Linked DNA regions of Homo sapiens: all the other regions are linked to region 2. Evidence: promoter capture Hi-C in 16 types of primary human blood cells and fetal thymus (Javierre and others, 2016). All regions are on one chromosome and are shown on one strand. The core of a region is centred on a gene start or on the middle of the fragment in contact, and the rest is flanking DNA. Distances in the headings are between cores, read along the strand shown. Region 1 holds the start of TSR2 (TSR2 ribosome maturation factor). Region 2 holds the start of APEX2 (apurinic/apyrimidinic endodeoxyribonuclease 2). Region 3 holds the start of PHF8 (PHD finger protein 8). Region 4 overlaps PHF8 (PHD finger protein 8). Region 5 has its middle 2.9 kb from the start of RRAGB.

Evidence for each region. The method cuts DNA at HindIII sites, captures the fragments that hold promoters and counts their contacts. A CHiCAGO score of 5 or more calls a contact.
Region 1: a contact is called between the fragment with the promoter of TSR2 here and the fragment with the promoter of APEX2 in region 2, in 2 of 17 cell types (total B cells and monocytes). The highest score is 6.0, in total B cells.
Region 3: a fragment that was not itself captured here is called in contact with the fragment with the promoter of APEX2 in region 2 in 12 of 17 cell types (fetal thymus, total B cells, naive CD8 T cells and 9 more); the score reaches 15.1 in fetal thymus.
Region 4: a contact is called between a fragment that was not itself captured here and the fragment with the promoter of APEX2 in region 2, in 1 of 17 cell types (naive CD8 T cells). The highest score is 5.2, in naive CD8 T cells.
Region 5: a fragment that was not itself captured here is called in contact with the fragment with the promoter of APEX2 in region 2 in 4 of 17 cell types (M2 macrophages, activated CD4 T cells, monocytes and 1 more); the score reaches 7.5 in M2 macrophages.

Annotation. Positions count from the first base shown.
Region 1 is chrX:54,439,073-54,441,772 of GRCh38, forward strand. It overlaps TSR2 (TSR2 ribosome maturation factor), which reads left to right and starts at 1,332. Exons shown (of 5, transcript NM_058163.3): 1 at 1,332-1,430; 2 at 1,618-1,708. The coding sequence starts at 1,350. RefSeq lists an enhancer at 1,050-1,099. The HindIII fragment of the contact is 25,574 bases long and covers 1-2,700 here.
Region 2 is chrX:54,999,107-55,001,806 of GRCh38, forward strand. APEX2 (apurinic/apyrimidinic endodeoxyribonuclease 2) reads left to right here and starts at 1,257. Exons shown (of 6, transcript NM_014481.4): 1 at 1,257-1,473; 2 at 2,440-2,523. The coding sequence starts at 1,317. RefSeq lists a silencer at 1,138-1,277. The HindIII fragment of the contact is 4,396 bases long and covers 1-1,972 here.
Region 3 is chrX:54,043,378-54,046,077 of GRCh38, forward strand. PHF8 (PHD finger protein 8) reads right to left here and starts at 1,096. Exons shown (of 22, transcript NM_015107.3): 1 at 385-1,096. RefSeq lists enhancers at 768-1,017, 1,228-1,687 and a silencer at 1,038-1,207. The HindIII fragment of the contact is 3,125 bases long and covers 1-2,700 here.
Region 4 is chrX:54,027,175-54,029,874 of GRCh38, forward strand. All of the region lies in intron 2 of PHF8 (PHD finger protein 8), which reads right to left. Among named protein-coding and RNA genes, the nearest start is that of PHF8, 16 kb to the right of the region's middle. The HindIII fragment of the contact is 2,182 bases long and covers 161-2,342 here.
Region 5 is chrX:55,713,452-55,716,151 of GRCh38, forward strand. No RefSeq gene overlaps it. Among named protein-coding and RNA genes, the nearest start is that of RRAGB, 2.9 kb to the right of the region's middle. The HindIII fragment of the contact is 1,189 bases long and covers 824-2,012 here.

The DNA of each region.
Region 1 (2,700 bases), core at 82-2,581, 560 kb before region 2:
TACAGCTAAAGATTTCCCTCTAAGTTTTGCTTTAGCTGCATCTCATGCATTTTTTTATGTTTTTGTTTTCATTCATTTAAAAGTGTTTTCTAATTTGCTTTGTGATTTTTTTCTTTGACCCATTTATTGCTTAGGAGTGTGTTAATTTCCATATATTTGTGAATTTTGTAAGTTTCTTTTTACTGATTTTTAACTTCTTTCCATTGTGGTCAGACAACATACTTTGTATGTTCAATCCTGTTAAATCTATGGAGGCCTACTGTATGGCCTAGTGTATGATCTGTTCTGGAGAATGTTCTTGTGTACTTCAGAAAAACATGTACAGTTATCCCTGGGTATCCGTGGGAGACTGGTTCCACGACCTCCGGAGGATACCAAAATTCATAGATGCTCAAGTCCCTGATATAAAATGGCATAGTATTTGCGTATAACCTATGAATATTCTACTGTATACTTTAAATCATTTCCAGATGTGACTCACGCCTATAATCCCAGCAATTTGGGAGGCTGAGGCAAGTGGATTAAACCCAGGAGTTCGAGACCAGCCTGGGCAACATGGCGAAACCCTGTCTCTACTAAAAACACAAAAATTAGCTGGGAGTGGTGGTGGGCACCTGTAATCTCAGGTACTCGGGAGGCTGAGGCACGAGAATTGCTTGAAACCAGGAGACGGAGGTTGCAGTCAGCCGAGATGGCGCCACTGCACTCCAGCCTGGGCCACAGAGTGACACTCGGTCTCAAAAAAATAGATAAATAAATAATTTCCAGGTTACTTATAATGCCTAATAAAGTGTAAATGCTATGTATATAGCTGTTATACTGTACTGTTTAGGAGAATAATGTCAAGAAAAAAAGTATACACATGTTCAATGCAGATGCAATTTTTTCCTGAATATTTTCCATCTGAGGTTAGTTGAATTCACGGACGTGGACTGCCCCCCATAGGGAGAGCTGATTGTATTTTACTGTTGTTGGTTGCAGTATTCTATACAGATGTTAGGATGCTTTTTTTAAATGCAGATTTTTAAGGCTATACTCACTGAGTCCTCTGCCCCAGGGCCTGGAATCTGTATCTGTAATAAGTTCCCCACATATTTCCTCCGCAGTACCCACGGATCCGGAAACCATGGCCCCACACGTCCTTCAGGTCTGGTGTCCTTTGATTTAAGTGAGTAACTCTGGTGGTGTCATCGATCGCTCTGACAGATTTTTCTTTTGCTCTAGTCTTGCTGCCAGGTCTGCGGAAAAGAGAATCCTGTGTTCTCAGGCTCGGCTTGCGTCTCGTTCTGCCTGGGCCGAGCTACAGAGGGATTGGGCCGCCGGGACGTCACGTGGACTGGGGCCGGATAATGGCGGGCGCTGCAGAAGATGCGCGAGCTCTTTTCCGGGCTGGGGTCTGCGCGGCCCTGGAGGCCTGGCCGGCCTTGCAGGTCAGTGGGGCCAGGGCCAGGGCAAGGTCAAGGTTAGGGCCCGGGGCAGAACAGGAGTTGGTTGGGCTAGGTGCCTGAGGCTTGGCTAGGCGGCATAAGAGGAGTTGGCTGGGCGGCGTAAGCGGCCTCCAGGCTACTCCAGGTCTGCTCCCAAGCTGACTTGGTGGGCTTGGACCTGTGTTTACAGATCGCTGTGGAGAATGGCTTCGGGGGTGTGCACAGCCAGGAGAAGGCCAAGTGGCTGGGGGGTGCAGTGGAGGATTACTTCATGCGCAATGGTGAGTGAATGTGAGGCGCCGCGACCCGCCTGTGTGGGGGTGTGGAGAGGAGGAGCCCCATCCCGCAGAGCCTGCATTTCCTCTCGAGCAGTTGTGGATTGGTACCTAAAGGTGAGGTGGAATGAATTCAGCTTTTAGAATCAGAATCCTGGATTCCAGTGCTTTACGGGCTGTACCACTGACTCGTGGGATTACTCTGGACAAGGCAGTTTACCTCCCTGAGACTCAGTTTCCTAGTTTCTAAAATGCGTATAAAAGTATCCACCAGAGCGCTGTACAGTAGAAATATTATGCTAGTCACATATAATTTAAAATTTTTTAGTAGCCACTTTAATAAAGCAAAAAGCAGATGAAATCAATGTTAGTAAACTCGGTGTGTATGAAATATTTCAACATGTAGTCAGTATAAAACATTGAGATATTTTACATTTTTTAGTATTAAGTTTTCAAAATCTGGTATTTTACAGTTTTAGCACATTTCGATTTGGCCTAGCCATATTTCAAGTGCTCAGTAACCACCTGTGGCTGTTTGGACAGCAAAGATCTACACTGTAGGCTCGTCTTGAGGGATATACAAGAACAAGAGGCCCAGTAGAGGGCCTGTTGCATAGTATGGTTTTTAAAAAAATCTTCATTCAATTTCTAGCTTTGGAGATGACATTAGGCAGAGTCATCTCTCTCAAGAAAGTATACTATCCATTGAGGATCCACACACGTAAATAGTTACAACATTGATAGATTTTCTGATAAAGAGGAGCTCAGGGTGCATGGGGTAACAGGATGGGGAGACAGCTTCTTAGTGGAGGTGGTGAATTGGGCTGGGTCTTAGTGAGAAGGAGTTAACTAGGTGGGGGAAGCAGAGAGAGCAACACTCAAGTTCTGTGGCATGAGGGTATAATGTGTTATATTTGGAAAGTAGCAGGGAGCTCAGTATTGGAGTATGGGCGTGTGTGCGTGGGGGGTGGAGGAGTGGTAGAGAATGAAGCTGGGGT
Region 2 (2,700 bases), core at 7-2,506:
GAACCTAAAGATGCATCGTTATGCTTTTCCCTGGACATTGGGCATATCCATTACTTCTAATTTTTGTGCTCTCAAAAACAAGCCATGAACCTGTCGATGCTCTTGCTATTATCCTTTGTTCATTCATTCACCTGACAAATATCTATTGCTTCCCAACATATGCTGTGTCCAGTATTAGGGGATGGGGCTAACAAGATGAACCAGACATGGTCATTGCTCTCAAGTTGCTGGCATTCTAATGGCAGCAGAAATAGAAGTCAATGATAGCTGTGTATTATAAGTACTGTGACAGAATGGACCATAGGGTGCCGTGGGGCCCCAGAGGAAAAGACTTAACTGGGGAGGTGTGTGGTCAGTAAAAACACTCAGAAAAGTAATTATTGAGCTAATTAAGACAGGGTGTGAATCCTGGCTCTACTACTTCAGTGTAAGAGAGAGTGAACTGTGAGAATGAAATGAATTCATTCGACGTCTCTAACTTAGCCTCCATGTCCCGAACTGGGTTGTCTTGAGAATGAAATGAGATAACATATACAGAAGAGCCATGGATGCATCCGGAGACAATGCTGCTCACGAGCTTACATTTCCTGGGCTTCGATTTCACTTATCTGAGAAACAGAACCAAGAGTAAGGATGTGTCCGGCTACATCCTTCAGAATGTTAAGAGCCAAGACAAAAGCTACAGGGCAGGCTTGAGACAGCCTCCTCCTCCTCCCCTCTGCCCCAATAAAGCCAAAGGCCCTCCTCCTAAGTCTTATCTCAGTGGAGCGACTCTTACTGCTCCCTCCTCCAACCATGAACTTCCCTTTGCCCAGTCCAACGCGAGCACTTAGCGCCAGCTATTCCTGGGGCGCAAGCGCTGCAGCCATCTGTGAACTTAGGTGGGCGGTCCGCCGCACTGAGGGCGGGGCTTTGGCAGCTGAGCAGTTCCGCTCAGGGTTCCGTCGCTTAAAAAGTGGCAAAATGCCGTTTGTAAGTAACCGGACGCACCACTTGGACTTCTGAGTAGAGGAAAAACGCATTGAGACTCAGCTGTCCGAGCGGAAGGAGCGGGAGCCCAACTGGAAACTCCTCTCGCCATTCATTGCCCCTAGGCTTCCGCTTTGCTTCCTTCAGCGTCCACCCAGTTCCTCCTCCCGCCAATGAGAGCTGAGGAAGTTGAAGCCCCCGCCCGACGTGCGTCAGGCGCTTTAGTGGTACGCACGAGAACGCCTGCGCAAACGCGCGCGGGAGGCGGGCCTGGCCAACTTCTGAACAGGAAGCAGTTCGCTCGCGCCTAGGTTGGCGCGGGCTGGGAGGTGTTCCAGCCCTTTAAGATGTTGCGCGTGGTGAGCTGGAACATCAATGGGATTCGGAGACCCCTGCAAGGGGTGGCAAATCAGGAACCCAGCAACTGTGCCGCCGTGGCCGTGGGGCGCATTTTGGACGAGCTGGATGCGGATATCGTCTGTCTCCAGGAAACCAAAGTGACCAGTGAGCGCTCTGGATTCCAGGATCCCTACATACTTTTTCTTTCCCGCTAACTTTTGTCCCCTGTCCCATGTAATTTTACTTTCCCAGTTTCCTATTCTTAGAGTCCTGTCCTTAGACCCAGGTCCCTTCCCTCTTAAACTTCCATTTCCCACCCTAGCTAGATCCCCTAATTGCACTCCATCTCCTGTCTTCAGCAAACTTTAGCTCCTTCTCGAAACCCCATATCTAGTCAGATTCCCACTCATTCTCCGGCCCCAAACTCAGTCCCCTGAATTTCCTCCTTCCATACGCTGTCCATCTCCCCGCCGCCAAGTCAAACCCCCGAATTCTTCATCCCTGCCCCAAGCTCAGATCCTCTAATTCCCACCCCATCTTTGACCCCAGCTCAGTCTAATTTCCTCTTTTTCACATTTCCACCTCAGAACCCCAGTACCCCTTATCTATTCCCATCTCTCCTCCCAGCGGAAAGTCCCTAATTCCCACCTCATTTCCCACCCCAAGCTTAGATGTCCTCTTATTTCTTCACCCTCTTATCTCCCCTCAGAATCCCCTAATTCCTTTTCCCTCCACCCCCAGTTCAGATCCCCTAATTCCCTCTCTCTTACCTCTCACCCTTAGCTCAGATTCCCACCATCCTCTCGTATGTCCATCCCCATCCCCAGCTTCCTCCTATCGTTCAGACCCCCAGGCTTAGCTCTGATTCTTTCCCCTTCCCACCTAATTCTCCACCTCCACTTCATAGTCTCTAACCGCCCCCCACCAAGCCTTCTAATTCTGATATCAATTTCCTCTCTGACATTTCCCATCTTTCTAGGTCCTCCTCTAATCATGGATATTTCATTCCCGTCACCCCCAACTCTGGCTCTGATGTGTGCAAGGAATTAGCCTACAACTGTAATTCCAGGCCTTTGTGTTTCTCGGATGCTAGTTTTACCTCTGACTTAATCTTACATTTTTTTTTTCCAGGGGATGCACTGACAGAGCCCCTGGCTATCGTTGAGGGTTATAACTCCTATTTCAGCTTCAGCCGCAACCGTAGCGGCTATTCTGGTAAATGGGGCTTTCTGTGGACTTTAAATTAGTGAGGGAGGCAGATAGGGGAAAAGGGTTTCCAATATTTGATGAGAGGGTAATAAGAAATCTTAGACATTTAGTTTACAGAGCTAAAGCTGCATAATAGTAAATTACATGAAATATAATTTTTATGGATAGAATTATCCTACTGGA
Region 3 (2,700 bases), core at 63-2,562, 960 kb before region 2:
GTCGTGTTCGGAGAGTTTAAATAATCCTTTCCATCACTCTCAATATCATTCCTTCCCCGACCAGTCAGGAGTCTCATCACCCCCAAAACTGAAATAAATATAAATCTCTAAACTGACCAGCTCGTTCTGTACTTTAAAGATGACAGGGTTCTGGCTGCATCCCTGAAACTCAAAAGGATCTATTCAAAACCCCTCAAACTGACTAGAATTTCCTCACACTCCCGAAACTAAGCAAGGATTCTTTTGCATCGCTCGGAAACTGGCAGCGTTTCCTTGCAGCCCCCCCTCAAACTGATGAGAGCTCCCTAGTCTCCCCAAATGTTCAGGTACCTCACAGTATATCCTAAAACTGACAGTAATAGCCTCGCAGCCCCCAAAACTTACAGGAATCTTAACGCTTCCCCAACTGACAGGAACCTCCTCACGCCCCAAACCTGACAAGAACGTCTTCAGTCCAGAATCCTACAGGGACCTCCTCATGCTTTGGGCTGCAAGGACTCCACGCCCGCGGAGCTCAGCCCCAGCGACACGCCGGCAGCCGGGCTAGCTCCGGGACTGCGAAGCGCCTCAGCGGAGGCTCGTCCGGTAGTTCCGGCCCCTACGGCGACGCGCGTCGAATTCTGGGATAGTCCCCGTACCGCCGGGAACCTCGCTCGCCTTCCCCTCGAGCCCCCCGCTGGGTCGCGCGGCGCCAGCCGCTCAACGGTGCTTCAGAGCAGCCTCCTCCACAACATTCCCCTCGGCCCGGCCGTTCGGGCCTACTGGAGACCGCGGCTTGGGCCTAGTCTGGCGGCCGCCCGGCGAACGGGCAAGTGGCGTCGTCGCTGGGCCGGCAGGAGATACTCGCGAGCAAACCAACGGGGAAAGAGATGAACCGGCCGCCACGTCCGAGGCACACGGCCCGAAAAGTCGCTGGGAGAAGCCCAGTGGCGGTGGTAGGCAATTCGGAGTAGTCAATAAAGTTTATTCAAAACAATGAGGAAGTTGAGGCGGAGAGGGGAGGAGAAATACGGGATAAACAGCTACCATGTTGAGAGTGGCGGCGCTACCCAGACAACCAAGGCGACCGCCATCTTATGAGGGCTGGACTCGCGAGGTGAGCGCGGCGGAGGCGGGGAACCGCGAGCCGCCGGCTCCCGGGTGACGTCATCGGGGGGGCGGGGCGCCACCTTGAGAAAGGAGGGCGGTTCTCAGCCACCTTTGGACCCGCTCGTCTCTTTAAGGTGCCCAATCGCCGCTGAAGACCTTGAGCCCAGAGGCGGAGAAGCCGCCATCTTAGGCGAGGCAGACGTTTGGCTCCATTTTGAGTGGGGCCCGAAACTTCCTAGCCTTCCCCCTCCTCCGGGCAAACAGGGAGTTCAGCTACCCCGACTCGCACACTCCTCCTCCCCAGCCTTCTCCTCCTATGAGAGGAGGTGAACTCGGTGACTCCAAACTACAAAATTAATAGGTGGCGGCGGGGGCGGGCTTCAGCCGGGGTAGAGGCGGAGTACTCACCGCGGCTCCTGTTCATTGAGCACCTTCGATAGGCTGGGCTCTTTCCCACGGTCTCTGCGTTGTTGGTTCTTCCCCCTGTGAAGGAAGCTCTGTGATTATCACCAAATGAAGGCAGGGGCTTCGAGAAGCCAAGTGACTTGAGTCCCGGAGCAGGGACGTTGAACCTTGTGCCCTGTGCTACCCGCGTTCTGTCCCCAGGCCCTCAGTGTAGTTCCTCTGTAAAGCTGCTGCCAACTCCACAACTCCCTCTGAACTCTTCTTTGACCCTACTGTTTCACTTCAGTTCAAATACAGTTCAAGGATTTGTTTGCACCTGTCCCACAATTTTCTGACTATAGCCTGAGGGGAGGGGAGAGGAGGGGGGATGAGAGGAAAGGCTGAGTTAGTGGAGCTTTGCTGAGTTAGTGGAGCTTCGTACATATGCTTCAAGATGGCCTAGGTTTTCTCAAACATTCTAGAAAATTCTCTAGGAGTTATCTTACTATTTCATTTTCTTAAAGGGTCCCATTGCTTTAAAAAGGAAATGTGTGCGTGCACACAATTTACTAACCAGTGATGGTGGGGTAGGCCCTGGGGATGCAATGGTGAAAACAGGGCCTCTGGAGTGGGAGGGCATCTGCCAGTGCAGGAAACAAAGTTGCGAGTAAACAATTGGAATAGAAGGCACAGTAAGCACACAAATACCACCTGCAAAATGACCTTTGCAAAATGCAACATGAAGCTACAAAAGAGCCTTACAAGCTGCTTGCAGCTGCTGTAAGAAAGACGGCAGGGGGACATGGACGATTAAGTTCACTTAAATAAACAAGCGAGAACATTGTACTCAAAAGGATCAACGTGTACAAATGCATGGAGGCACATAGAAAAATATTTACTAGAAGTTGAATATTGTTGGAACAAGGAAAACAGAAGAGAGATAGGTAGGAGGTCAAACAGTAAAGGGTCACAACATGAAAGATTGCGAAATGCAAAAGAGTTTAGATTGTATGCAGTTAGCAAAAAGAAAACACAGGTTTTTGAGCAGGGGTAGCTTAGTCTCATATTTGTGACTTACCCAGAGGATGGTTTAGGGTTTTTTTTTTTTTTTATGTTTGTTGTTTTAGAGACAAGGTCTCACTCTGTCAACTCAGGCTGGGCGGTCATAGCTCACTGCACCCTAGAACTCCTGGACTCAAGCGGTCCTTCCGCCAGAGCCTCATGAGT
Region 4 (2,700 bases), core at 2-2,501, 970 kb before region 2:
TTCACAATAGCATTTAAACAAGTCTATTGATGTTTACAAATTAAAAAACCAAGACCTACCCGCCCTCCCATCCTCCCTCCCTTCTGTCCGCCCCTTCACAGCCAAACACATTCTTTCTTTAAACCTATGCAGCTTAAAAATGAAGTAAATAAACCTACGAAGCTTGATAATGACTCCTCTTTTGAATAAGTAACAGCTGTACATGGTGCAAAACTCAGAGTACAGAAGTATATACAGTAAAAAGTCTCCCTCCCACCCTTAGCTGCCTAGTAGTATCCAGAGGTGTTCTATCAGAGCCAAATCGATACTTTTTTAGGGTTGCTATATGCACTTTGTGATTCATCTCCTGCTAGTCTGATCTTAGTCCCCACCTTCTTTAAAATAGATCTCACTGGTTTCCTGACCTCCTTGTTGATATATGCAATAAGTACTTCTCTGCTTTATCTCCCTTAACCTCTTAGCACCATTTTCGCCCTGCCAACCCTGTACACTCTCCACCTGACAAGCTCTCTATCCTTGACTTCTATAACGTCCCATCTGGCTGGTGCCCATTCCTTCAGCTGACATTTAATGAGCATCCGCCAGGCTCTGGTCTAGGTGCTGGTGAGACGAAGACAAAAAACAAAGCATACAAAAATCCCTGCCCTCATAGAGCTGATGTTCTAGTGGGGAGGCAGACAAGAAACAAGATAAATCAATGCAATTGGTGAAACACATTGTATGCTGGATAGTGAGAAGACCTAGGTAGAAAAAAAAACAGGAAGGGGGATATAGAGGAATATGTATGTGTGAATATATAACTATACACACCACACACACACACACACACACACACACACACACACAATGGGGGGGCCAGGAAGAATGGTAGTGAGGGTGAAATATTAGATAGGGAAGACAGGGAAAGACTGACAAAATGGCTTTTGAATAAAGACCCAAAGGGAGTAAGGGAGCAAGCCCCTCATGTGGCTATGAAGGAAGAGCATCCCAATAAGAACAGCAAGTACAAAAGCCCTGTGGTGGGAGCATCCCTAGACTCCGAAGGTAGCAGAGAGGAGGAGAGTGTTCTAGAGTAGAGAGGTAGGAGGACAGTAATAAGTCAGAAAGGCAATAGACTCATGTAGTAGGGTGTTGTAGGCCACTGTAAAGCACTCTGGCTTTTCCTGGGTAGCCACAAGAACTGGGGAGTAACAGCCACTATGAGTAGGGATGTGATGTGATTTTAATCATGTCTTTGGCTGTTCCTTTTTCCCGATGAACTCTTTTTCTCCTGCCCAGTCCTTAAATGTTGAAGTTTCTTAGGTCCTCTTACCTGGGCACTCTTTTCTCCTCACTTTTCCTCACTGTTCTCACTCCCAGGGCTCCATGTGCCCTCTATGCACTCATAACTCCAAGCCAGATTAGACCCTTCCCTCCAAATGTCTCCTGGGTGAGACATTTCTACTGGATAGCCACTTACGTACTTCAAATTCAACATGTCCAAACTCAGTTTCTCCTTCTGTCTGTCACCTAAACATGCTCCCTTCTCTTAGGTTTCCCACTTCTGCAAATGGCTCCATAACCTCACCAGGCATTCAAGCCAGAAACCTGGCAGCCATCACTGATTCACCTCTAGCCCTCTCCCTCCACTATACCCTGAAGTAGACGTTCTAGCATCAAGTTAAGAACACTGACTTTAGGTCCAGATTCTCTGGGTTTGCATCCTGGCTGTGCCACTTACTAGCTGTGGGATCTTGGACAAGTTACTTAACCTCTCTGTGCCTCAGTTTCCTCATTGTAAGATGGGGATAAAAACTGTACCTACTTCACAAGGTTGTTATCAAAAGCAAATGAACTAAATATATAGAAAGTGTTTAGAACAGTGTCTGGCCCATAGTAAGTGCTGTGTATGTTTGTTGTTATTATCCAAGTTATCAGCATGTCCTATCAACTCTCTTTATTAGCTATCAATTGTGTTAATTTGTCATCCTTACTGCCCCTGCGCTAGTTCAGGCCACTATTATCTCTAACTCAGTTATTGTCCTGCCCTCCTAACTGGACTCCTGGCCCCTATTCTGTCCCTACCCAATCGGCCCTCCACACTACAGCCAAAGTGATCATTTAAAAACACAAATTTGATCCTATCAACCCATGCTTAAAATGCCTCACAGGGTCCCTATTTTTCCTAAGGTAAAGTATAAACTTACCATGGCCCAAAAGGCCTTGCCTCTCTGGCTGAGCTCACGTCTTTCCCCTCACACACAGCGTATGCTGGGGGAGACATTCCTACTGCATAGCCCACTTACAATCTGTGGGGCCTAATGGAAATGAAAAGTGGGAGCTCCCTGTTCAAAAAATAGAAAAGCTTTTTCCTTTCTTCCATGGTCTCTCTCTCAACTTACCATGCAGTTTTAATATGCTATTTACTGTCACGCTCCCTTGGGTATAGGGATAACTCAAGGGGCGAGTGCAGGCCCACACAAGTACCCTGGGGCCCTGCCCGGTGACTTAGTACACAGGGTACATGAACCCAACCGACTCTGTCCACACCTGCACCTGGGCCCAGTGCCCCAGGCAGCTAGCCAAGAACCTGTTCGGGGAGGTAGAATGGCAGCAGGAGGTAGAACCACATATGAGCCAAGACTCTTAAATCCCCAGCGCACACTCCATTGTTCCATCACATACCAATCACAAAATCAAAGGCAAAATTATTAAGAATTT
Region 5 (2,700 bases), core at 168-2,667, 710 kb after region 2:
AATAGGAGTGACCATGGCCTGTGATACAGTCCTCAGGAGATCCTGAAAACAAGTGCCCAAGGTGGCTGCGGTGCAGCTTGGTTTTATACATTTTAGGGAGACAAGGGACTTCAGTCAAATACATGTAAGAAATATATGGGTTTGGCCCAGAAAGGTGGGACAACTCGGAGTGGGGGTGGGAGGGGGGCTTCCAGCTTATAGGTAGATTGAAAAAATTTCTGGTTGACAATTGGTTGAGTTTAAAGACCTAGGATCAATAGAAAGGAATGTTTGGGTTAAGATAAGAGGTTGTGGAGACTAAAGTTTAATCATGCAGGAAGCCTGCAGGTTCAGAAAGAATAGAATGTAAATGCTTCTTATCAGATTTAAAGGTCTGTGTTGATGTTAAAGCTGGAGAAATATAATGAGGCATGTTTGACCCCTACTTCCTGTCATGGCCAGAAAGTCACTCAGGATACATTTTTAAAGAGTGCCCTGGCCGAGGAGAAAGCACATTCAAATGGTTGAGGAACCTTGGTATTTTATTTTTGATTTACAATAGGAATGCACTGCACATTGGCCCTATTCACCATTATTTGGAATCTATGCTTATTTGATTTAGTTTCTCAATCCTTTTCCACTACCTTTCTTCCATTCCCTTCCTTCTACCCCTCTTCCTCCTTTTTCCTCTTCTCCTTACCCCTCTATTCCTTCCCTCTTTCCCATCTCCCCACTTCTCCCCCTTTTCTTCTTCATCCCTCCCCTCCCCTTCTTTATCTGTTTCTTCCTCTTCTTACTTCTTGCCTCTTGGCACTTTGAGGCAACTATCAGCAGTTCCTTATGAAGCTTGTGAGGTAGTGAATGTGGGTAGAGAAATATAGCTCGTGAGTTGCTATAGGCCAGATCTTGAAGGTCCTTGTATTGACACACTTTTTCCTTAAGTTATGGGAGGATTTTAAAGTAGAGAAGTAGTCTCCTCCGATTTGTGGTTTAAAAGATTACTCAAGTTGAGGTTGCAGTGAGCCATGATTGTGCCACTGTACTCCAGCTTGGGTCAGAGAGCAAAACCCTGTCTCAAAAACAACAAGAACAACAACAACTACAACGACGATAAAAAGAAATTTGATCGCACCTGTAATCCCAGCACCTTGGGAGGCCAAGGTGGGCAGATCCCTTGAGGCCAGGAGTTTGAGTCTGGCAACAAAGTGAGACCCAGTCTCAACAAAAACTAGTTAATTAATTAATTAAAATAAAGGATCACTTGAGCAGCTTTTAGAGAGGATGGATGGTTTGAAGGAGGGGGAAAAGGATACCAGCAGCAACAGGGAGACAGTATTTTTTTTTTGCTTGCTTTGTCGCCCAGGTTGGAGTGCAGTGGTGCGATCTTGGCTCACTGCAACCTCCGCCTCCTGAGTTCAAGCAATTCTCCTGCCTCAGCCTCCCGAGTAGCTGGGATTATAGGCGCGTGCCACCACACCTGGCTAATTTTTGTAGTTTTAGTACAGATGAGGTTTCACTATGTTGGCCAGGCTGGTATCGAACTCCTGACCTCAGGTGATTCGCCCACTTTGGCCTCCCAAAGTGCTGGGATTACAGGTGTAAGCCACTGCACCTGGCCGAGACAGTACATTTTTATAAAAGAGTGGTTTAAGGGGCCAATTTGGCTGGTGAAGCCCGGGGGCAGTAGGTGTTGGAAGACATATTTGAAAGCTGCCTTTAGAAAGCAAGCACATATTAATTACGTCAAATGTTTTGGGGGATGAGATGACTAATGAAGATCAACTCACTCACTCCCAACCCCTTTGGAGCTGCCACTGTGGGAAAATCACTTAGTAGGCTATTGTGGATATCTAGGCCAGAGATTATGATAGCTGGAACAAAAAGAGTGGCAGTAAGAATAAGAGCAGGCAGGTAGTAGAAAATAGACTGATCATGACCTGGTCTCATTGACACGTATGGAGGGCAGTGAATCTAAGGTGACTTCCTGGTTTGGGACTCAGGATCTTTCATCAGACAAGGAAAGCCAGAATGGAAGCTTGTTTGGGGGTAGTTGGTTGGAAGGAGACAAAAGATTAGCTAGTGATAGAGCGAAGGATCACTAATCAGAGTAGAATAACTTTTTTCTTGAGGCAAGGCAGTTGTGGAGAAAAGGAATCACACAGGACCTCAAGTGGAAAGTGTGGGAGCAGACAGTGTAACTGCCCAACGGGTTCACCTTGCCTGCTGCCTAGACAGAGCTGATTTATCAAGACAGGGGAATTGCAATGGAGAAAGAGTAATTCATGCAGAGCCAGCTGTGGGTGAGACTGCAGTTTTATTACTCAAATCAGTTTCGGGGGATTGAAATTTTTAACAATAATTTGGTGGGTAGGGGCTTGGGAAGTGGGGAGTGTTGACTGGTCAAGTTGGATATGGAATCATAGGGGGCTCTAAGTGAGTTTTTCTTGCTATCTTCTGTTCCTGGGTGGGATCGCAGAACTGGCTGGGCCAGATTACTGGTCTGGGTGCTGTAAGTGAAACGAGGGAAGTTCCCCTATCCCCCTTGCAGGGCATGCCACAGCGGGAGTGGCTCACTGCTTCACAACCTCTAGGGGGAGCATGCAGAGGGGCAGGCTGTGGGGCTCCGACCCCATGGCAACCTCTAGGGGTGAATATAACATTTGGGTGGGAAGGCAGGAGTGCCTATCCTCACCTAGGTCCATGGGCACAGGCCCCAGGGTG